2 separate regions of the Homo sapiens genome follow, and region 1 is linked to region 2. The links are contacts of gene promoters, found by promoter capture Hi-C in human tissues and cell types (Jung and others, 2019). All regions are on one chromosome and are shown on one strand. The core of a region is centred on a gene start or on the middle of the fragment in contact, and the rest is flanking DNA. Distances in the headings are between cores, read along the strand shown.

Region 1 (4,389 bases), core at 1,664-4,163, 230 kb after region 2:
GGTCACACTCAACTTGCTTGCAGGCAGGCTCGCACTTGAAGTAGTTAGACCAGCGCTGATGGGTAAGTACAGAAAAGCAAAGTTCAACTGGGTCTAAAAGCTGGACAACGTAGAAAAAATAATAATAACATCTTCTTCCATTGTTTTTTTAAACTGGGAAATCCTCTATTCTAGTTTTGAAAATCTTTCCCATGAGGCACAGTTGTTTTACTTCCTATGTTTTCCAAAATGAGAACTATTTTTCTGATTCATAAAACTCTAATCAGTCATCAGTTTTGTCTTTGCTGGCTCACATATACAATAGTCTCAAAAAGAAGAGGGGGCAATCATGCTAACTATGTTCCTCTTGCAAAAGTCTGTTTTCTCTAGGTCAATATGAATAGCTTCTTGCTGCCATATGCCATTGCCTTTTCTAACATAGATTCACAACATAAAAATGTTTCAATCCTCTGAACTGGATTCATTTATAATAAGCTTCTAGGAGGTCAAAATTTTTTTCAGGAGGGGTTATAGAAACTGCAATTAGTTTCTGTGCCTTTGTGAGCTACAGGGCTTGGTTATATCCATATAAAGGACACAGAAAATGGAGATAAATTCTATGTACACAGGCTGAAATGTGTCCTGATTCTCTTAACGGCTGTCACCTGCTGGAAATGGAATTAGGTGCATCATCATACAATTATTTCTTAATTATTAATTTATTTCAAGTGTCCATTCAATAGCAGCTTCATTGTCTGGATGCAACACTTCAAAAAATGTATTCTTCATCTTAAGTCCCTCACTCTATTGGGAAAGATACTTGAGTAAGCACAGTTCCAGGGCAGTGATAGAATTGAGTGCACTGATACATGTGAGAGTAGAATGTTACCACAAAAACTAGGTGCTTATAAAACACAATTGGATAAGTAGACTAAAAAGAGACAGCAGAGGAGCTATTTCCTAAAGGAAGACAAGTAATAAAGCAAATTGTAAGTCAAGATGTAGAAGGTGAAATATTTTCTTCGTAGCAAAAGGATAATTATGCTGCAAGACATAGAGATGAGATTTTCTACTTATAATATGTCTCTAATACTCAAATGAAATAGATGACTTTATATGCCTGCCTTTCTATTTGGTAAACAAATTAGACAATCTGATACATTTCAGCCACCTTAATCCCTGGGGTAATTAGTGCAGCAGAAATCCAATCACATGATCTCAAACTCACATGATGTACCTTGTTGTAGAATATCTCCATAAAACTTTATCAACCAGTTCATATTTAAGTGAAGAAAACAATCATATTAAAAAGAAAGGCCGGGCGCAGTGGCTCACGCCTGTAATCCCAGCACTTTGGGAGGCTGAGGCGGGCGAATCACAAGGTCAGGAGATGGAGACCATCCTGGCTAACACGGCGAAACCCCGTCTCTACTAAAAATACAAAAAATTAGCCTGGCATGGTGGCAGGTCCCTGTAGTCCCAGCTACTCGGGAGGCTGAGGCAGGAGAATGGCATGAACCTGGGAGGGAGTGCTTGCAGTGGGCTGAGATTTTGCCACTGCACTCCAGCCTGGGCGACAGAGCACGAGACTCTGTCAAAAAAAGAAAAAAAAAAAAAACAGTGAAAAATACATATAAAATAAGGTAAATTCTTTCAATGGACAAAGAACAAAACAGAGGAACTCCCATATCTGTATTTTTGACAATTTAGAAATAAGTTAGTACTTTATACTTTCTTCATCCTTTCTCCACATAGAGAAAGAAGCATTTTGAAAAATTTAGTCACTGTATACCACCAAATCCTAGTAGAAAGACAAGTTTGGATTGCTTTGTCTTCACAGGTAATTCTGCACTTTGAAAAAGCTTGGAGTACCAGACTACGAATATGACATCAGGTACATCTCATTTTGAGTTAGAGGCCAGTAAACAATCCCATTTCCTTTACTGAACCATTTAGAACGAATGTAAATATTTTAACATAAAAAGAGTTGTGTTTAGCAAATATTCCCCAGATTTTTCTCATTGGAAGGAAATAAGCTGAATGGTATTTTTCAAGCGTATAGCAAAGAAATTTAGCTGTAGAATTTCTCACATAATGGCACAATCCTGATTGTAATGTTGTAGGGCAGTATCCCATAGAGTGTGAGACGACTCCTTTGACTGTCAACTCCTCTTTCCAACAAACACTGGGATGAGCATTGTGACCCTCAGCCCCTTGGCTCTAAACTGGAAGACAGCTTCCTGGAGCAGTACCCGGTCTTATGACCCTCAAGTTAGCCCCAGGTCCTCCTGCTCTGTCACATCCACATGGGTGTGCAGGAAACTCAGAAACCGCAGTCCCTTCCTGGTAACAAAAATACATCGGAACAAAAATATTTCTATCCAATTTCAATCCCATGAAAACTTATCTGCATAGGTCTCAGTGTTAACTTCATTTCTTCTTGTTCTCGAAGAGGTACGCTCGCCTCCTACTTAGGCCTTCTATTTTTCATCTGTAATCTACATCCTATCTTCTCCTGAGAACTTTGACATTTTGCTCCCACATCCTGTCACAACTGAATATTAAATCTCTCTTTCTCTATGCCATTGGTTTCTCACCCTCAGTAAGTAAAGGTACTCCCATCTCTACCATTTCTGCACCCGCAATGCTCTATGGAGGAAAGATAAATTTGCCTGCATGTCAGGTACATGTCAGGTGAAAATAAATGTCAATGCTCTAATACCTTGGACAAGAGCCCTTGTCAGAAGACTAGTGTTGCGAAGGACTAAATTTTTTGTCATCACCAACAAGTACCAGGCCCCATGCTGGATGCCTTATAAATAATTGGATTTGAGACTTATAATAATGTTGTGGAAGCTTTCTTCATGCCATTAAGGAAGCAGAGGCCTACAGAGATTTTGTAAAATATTTAAGGTCGCATAAGTATGAAATAATTGGGAAAGATTTTTGTCCAGTTGTTGGACATTTCCCAAAGCAGAAAACAGTGCCTAATATTATTTACATGTCTTCATGCACTCTTTTCTTCTCTTTCTTCTCTTGTTAACTCAGAAGCAGTAAAATCTTATTATATTTTTACACTTAAATAGACTTTAAAAAATATTCCCTGTAATAAAAGGGGAAATACATGAAAGGCACTTCTGCTTCATCTCCAATTCTGATGGTTGTCCTGGGATAATAGCATGTTCTTGAGTTACAAGCTGAACTAGCAGTTTTAATCACAGAGAACCATGTTTACTTGAAAGAATGCTTGACAGATAAATGATCTTTATAAGGGATTCAGTGTATGTCAGACGTATTTTCAAATTGAATAAAATGAGCATGTCACTTCAAGGATAACTAGAGTATCAACTATCAATTATAAAATTTCGGTTACCAATCAAAATTAGAATAAAAAAATTGTATTGGCCACCATGAACTTACTGGTTACCCAAAACTTAAAGAATTTTCAGTTAAGATTGTTGACATTAACCCGTGCTATTTTTTTTTCTATTGTATAAGGACATGTGTCAACATTGGAAGATTAGCCCTAAGTGAGTAAACCAATATTTTCAAAATGAATAGTGCACATTGATACAAAATTATGCACGCGTAAAGATCCATTCAAAATGAAAGCTAGATATTAAAAAACCAATGGATTTAATAGAAAAGGGTATAAAAAGTTTATAAAGTTTCGGATTCTACATAGCAACAAGCTTAAGATACTACCACTTAATGAGTTTAGGTATAGCATCCAAGAAGAATATCTTGAATTATCTGAAAAGACAAGTAAATATTCCTCTCTGCCAACTATATATCTGTATGAGGCCATATTTCCTTAATATACTTCACTCAGAACAACATATTGAAGCAGATTGAAAGCAGAAGTCAATATAAGAACCCAGCTGCCTTTTATGAAGCAAGACATTAAAGAGATGCAAAAATGTGAAACAATGTCACTCTTCTAAGTGAATTTTGTTTTTGAAAAAAGTTACTTTAAAATATATTATTTATATTAATACATAATGAGGATGCTCCTGTTTTAAAAGTTACTATTTTAAAAATTTACCACTTTTAATTATTAAACAATAAATATTGATTATATATCCCATAAAAACAAAAGCTCTTTGGAGTTTTCAATAAATTTTAATAATCTAAAGAGGTTCTGACTTCAAAATTTTGAGAATCCCTGAGTATTACTTTTCGAGGACTGCCATAAAAAATCACTACAAACTGGATGGCCTAAAACAACAGAAATTTAGGAGGCGAGAAATCTGAGTTCCAAATGTACTCTTTGAAGTTCAAGGGAGAATCTGCCCCATGTCTTTGTCTTGGCTTCTGCTGTTGCCAGCAATCCTTACCATTCTCTGGCTTGCAGTTTCTTAAATTCAGTCTCTGACGTCTTCCCTCTGTGTGTCTGTGCATCCACATGGC
Region 2 (4,219 bases), core at 1,363-3,862:
TGCTTCTCAAATTATTCCACCAGGCATTGATTAGACTTTTTAAATTCATTTCATATCTGTCACTCTCAGCTAACATTTGTAATTTTTTAATTGTTGTTAAAGAGAATCTATTAATTGAAATATAATTATCCTCTTTAATAAAAGTAAATAAAATTACTTGGGTAGCCAACATATTCAAGTAATCATCAATCTTGGTCAGAAATTAAAAGTAAGATGAGCATCTAAACTTGGCACTCAAAGACTGACCATCTGCACCTTTGAGGCAAAATAAAATTCAGTTTAGGAAAACCTTATGAAAATCAATGTTTTAATTATGCTATCAAGGGCTGTGGTAGGCAGAAACTTCTTTGCTCCACCCCCCAAAAATGTCCAGTTCTTAATCCTGAAAACCTGTGGAATCTTGTGTAACAAAGGGACTTCATAGATGTAATTAATGTTAACGACCGGGAGGTGGAGAGTGACCTCGGTTATCCTGGTGGGTCCAAGGTAGTCACAGGCATCTTTATAATCAGTGAAGGTCTCCCTGCTGTGCTTAGAGAGGGGGATGCTGGAAGAAGAGTGGTCAGAGAAGCAACATTGCTGACTCTAAAGACAGAGGGCAGGCCACGAGCCAAGGCATGCAGGAGGCCTCCAGAAGCTGGGGCAGGCAAGAGAATGGACTCAGCCCTGGAGCCTCCAGAAGGCATGCAGCCCTGCCCATTCCTTGCTTTTAGCCAGGTAAGATGTCTGTCAGCCTGATGAGAACTATGAAATAATGAATGTGCTTGTTTTTTTCACCACTAAATTTGTGCTTATTTGTTATAGCAGTGATAGAAAACTAAGACAAGGCTATATCTTGGCATGTCAGATTTTAAGTTATCTGCTATAGTGTAGAAAAGCCCAGAGAAGGAGCTGCAATTTGTCTCTTTGAAAAAAAAAAAAAAAAAAGGATCACCTTCTAGGGGATTAAACATTAATGGGCTGGGTGTTGTGGCTGACACCTGTAATCCTAGCACTTGGGGAGGCCGAGGCGCTGCTGCACTCCAGCCTGGGCAACATAGTGAGACCCTGTCTCCAGAAAAAAAAAAAAAAAAGAAAAAGAATTAAACGTTGACAGATTATTAAGTGAGGCACTGTGTGAGACCTAGCTTGGGTTTGCGCCTATAGATATTTAAAAGTTGATCCAGGTTTTCACTTGAAAGCAGAACTACTGCCTTAAATTCCCACTTCACAAAAATAAATCATGGATTGAGGGAAAAATTTACTTGTTTGCTTTATAAAAAGAGATATCGATCTCTTCATAAGTTATATATGTTTTACAAGGTTGCACTGTTTGAACTGTAAGTGTGAATGGTTGCTAACACTCCAGAAACCAAGAGGTACATTTTAACTGGAAAAATTTTCTTCCTGTATCTTACAAATTAATTGAAGTTTGTCTACGCTTGAAAATATGTCAAAAGTATTATGTAGCTTTACCACAGTTTTATCTAACTTCTAGAAGAATTTAAATTCATATAAAGATAAAGAGTAACATACCAATAGAGTTTAGAGAGTTTTCAGATTTGCTCAGAAGAATGCTCCTTTGAAAACCTATGAAGTAGATTTTACCCAATGTATATCTGGATCTAAAAATTAAAGAAAATATCAGTCGTGTTCAGATTCCTTTATACCCTGCAGAAGAGAGAAAGAATAAGCAACATCAATGGAGCATATAACATGTATGGTTTAGCACTTTCATATTTTTAATCTTAACTATTCAGCCAAATACGTCTTATTTTTTTATTTTTATAGATGAAGATATTGAGGTTTGCATTTTTTTTTTATAAATTGCTCAGTCATACAGTTGGTAAATAGCTGACAGGAGAGTTCACTCCAGGTCTTACTGGCTCTCAAACCTTTGCTTTTTAAAAATCTCCAAACTAGCGCCTCTCCCTTTTAACTGCAAAATAAGCACAAAGTTATCCCAGTTCTACACAGTGCTAAACAAATTCCTGTGAGCAAACAATTAGCACAGGCAGATGGAGTGAGGGGGAGGTGGTTTATAACAATGGAAAGCTGTCTGCCTGCTGTGGATTAAAGATTCAAACTCTTTGATCCTCCTCCCAGGGATAGGTGAGGGCCTATGTCTCCTCCTCATTAACATGAGTGATCCTTGGCTAGGTTCTCCTTTGACTGACAGAATATGGGAGAAAGTAAGGCTGAACCATATACTGGGCTCAGGCTTCCAACCCTGACATGTTCCACTTCCTGTCTCCAGGAACATTCACCCTGGGAGCTCTGTGCTGCCATGCAAATGTCACATTGCACTGAGGCCGCCATGCTGTAAAAAACCCCAAGCTACCTACCTGAAAAGCTGGAGAGAATCAGCACCCATCAGCTTTTCCAGCATTTTGGGTCCTCCCAGCTAAATCATCGGCATTGTGAAGCAGAGATGAGACCTCCTGCCATGCCCTTTCCAAATCCTGGACCAACAGAATCATCATATACACTAGTAAGCTTTTACTTTAAGCCACTAATTTGGGGTGTAGCTCTTTTGCAGCAAAAGATCATCAGAACACTGCCATGCAGGAGCTGATAAACTTGCTCACTGTTATGTATGTATCCAATGACTACTCACACACACATTACTTGCTTCACTCTACTTTCTGGCTTTCCATTCAGCAAATTTTAAGAAATGAAAATGTTATTCGTGGGAAATTAACTCAAGATCAATATTGTTGTAGTTAATCTCTTTGTAAATGGTAAAATATTAAATTATTGTGAGTCATTTTTATTTAAAGAAGTTTGGTTCTTTAAATGAAAGAAGTTTGGGTCTTTTGTGGATACTCTGCATATAGACATTCTAGACATGAAAGAATGTTGAAGACAAAGAATGTTGAAGAAATATAGACATGAAAGACTGTTGAAGTTTGGTTTTTTGTGGATACTCTGCATATAGACATTCTAGACTGGAGTGATACATCTTGTTCAGGTTTCTATGTTTTTAAAATGATAACTTGACACGCCTACCAATGCCAATTTTTAGGATATATATTTGTATATCTGTGTGAACTAAGGAAAATTCAGGAATGATTAAACCTACATATTTTGCCAGGAGAGACTGGATAATGTAAGTCTTTATATTTTTCACAACTTCAAGTTTATAGCATCCAAATGAGCAATTGCTGACATACCTAGGGGATTTCTCTGCAGGTTCAAGTCTGATCTGGCCTGAGGGCAACACTCTTACTGAGTGTGTTCCTAGGCACTCCTTGGCAGTTGGCTCCAGGCCACAATAAAGAGCCCTGATGATTCTCTGAGCAGGCCCAACTTCCATTCACATTCATGGGAATATGAGGATGACTTGTGATCTTCAGGACTTAGATAGACTCTTTCAGTTGGTGTAGGGTAAGCTCAGCTCATCTCTAGAGACTTCCCACAGTGGAGCTCATGCATGACTCTGTGCAGGTGGCACAGGACAGCCAGAGACAGGCACCTAAGGAGTGCACTACCAGCAGGTGGACTCTCCACTGAGGGAGGTAGACAAGGGAGAAAGCCAGGTGTCCACATGGAGCAGGCCTTACTCAGGGAGACTGAGATTTTGCTCTACACATCATAAAACGTGGAGGTCATTAATGGAATTTTTCACAGGACATGACTGCCATAGCCATGATAGGGTCCCTGGCTAATCTTTCAATTATGATAGCATCATAAGATAATTTTGAATATGAGGAGAGAAGAATAACTCTAGAACTGCAATATCCAATATGGTAACCCCTAGCAACCTAAGGCTACTTAAACTAATTAAAATTAAAACTTTAGTTCCTCAGTGCCACTAGCCATATTTCAAGTACTCAATAACCACACACACTTGGCTACCATGTTGGACAGCACTGACATAGACCATTTCCATTACTGCAGAAAGTCCTCCTATTTGACAGTCCACCTCTGGAACCAATCCGGAGTCTTTAGGGACCTAAAAGACTGAGGTGCTAAATCTCAGAGCAGTACTCTGCTTAATGCTTAGTTAAAAGACTTGCTAATCTATATAGTTGATCTAGAGAACTTTAAAGGCAGCTAGTTCGTAGCAACTATGTTGCTGGACCTTGAAACTGTATGTCAGGAACTTGGTGTTCTAGTGGTGACTTCTCTTTTATCTACCATGTTCACACTTTTCCTACCACTCATTTATCCATTCAGAAAGTATTTCAGAAGTCCCTATGATTTACCAGGTGCTATTTCAGACACTGAGGCACTGTGG

What was found. Contacts are between HindIII fragments. The study calls those that stand out against the background at their distance.
Region 1: a contact is called between a fragment that was not itself captured here and the fragment with the promoter of DAOA in region 2, in 2 of the 25 tissues and cell types used here (dorsolateral prefrontal cortex and spleen).

What each region holds. Positions count from the first base shown.
Region 1 is chr13:105,235,360-105,239,748 of GRCh38, reverse strand. No RefSeq gene overlaps it. Among named protein-coding and RNA genes, the nearest start is that of DAOA, 230 kb to the left of the region's middle. The HindIII fragment of the contact is 3,510 bases long and covers 1,159-4,389 here.
Region 2 is chr13:105,464,438-105,468,656 of GRCh38, reverse strand. It overlaps DAOA (D-amino acid oxidase activator), which reads right to left and starts at 2,612. Exons shown (of 6, transcript NM_172370.5): 1 at 2,597-2,612; 2 at 2,325-2,441; 3 at 1,516-1,604. The coding sequence starts at 2,368. It overlaps DAOA-AS1 (DAOA antisense RNA 1), which reads left to right. Exons shown (of 7, transcript NR_040247.1): 5 at 2,237-2,470. The HindIII fragment of the contact is 13,308 bases long and covers 1,191-4,219 here.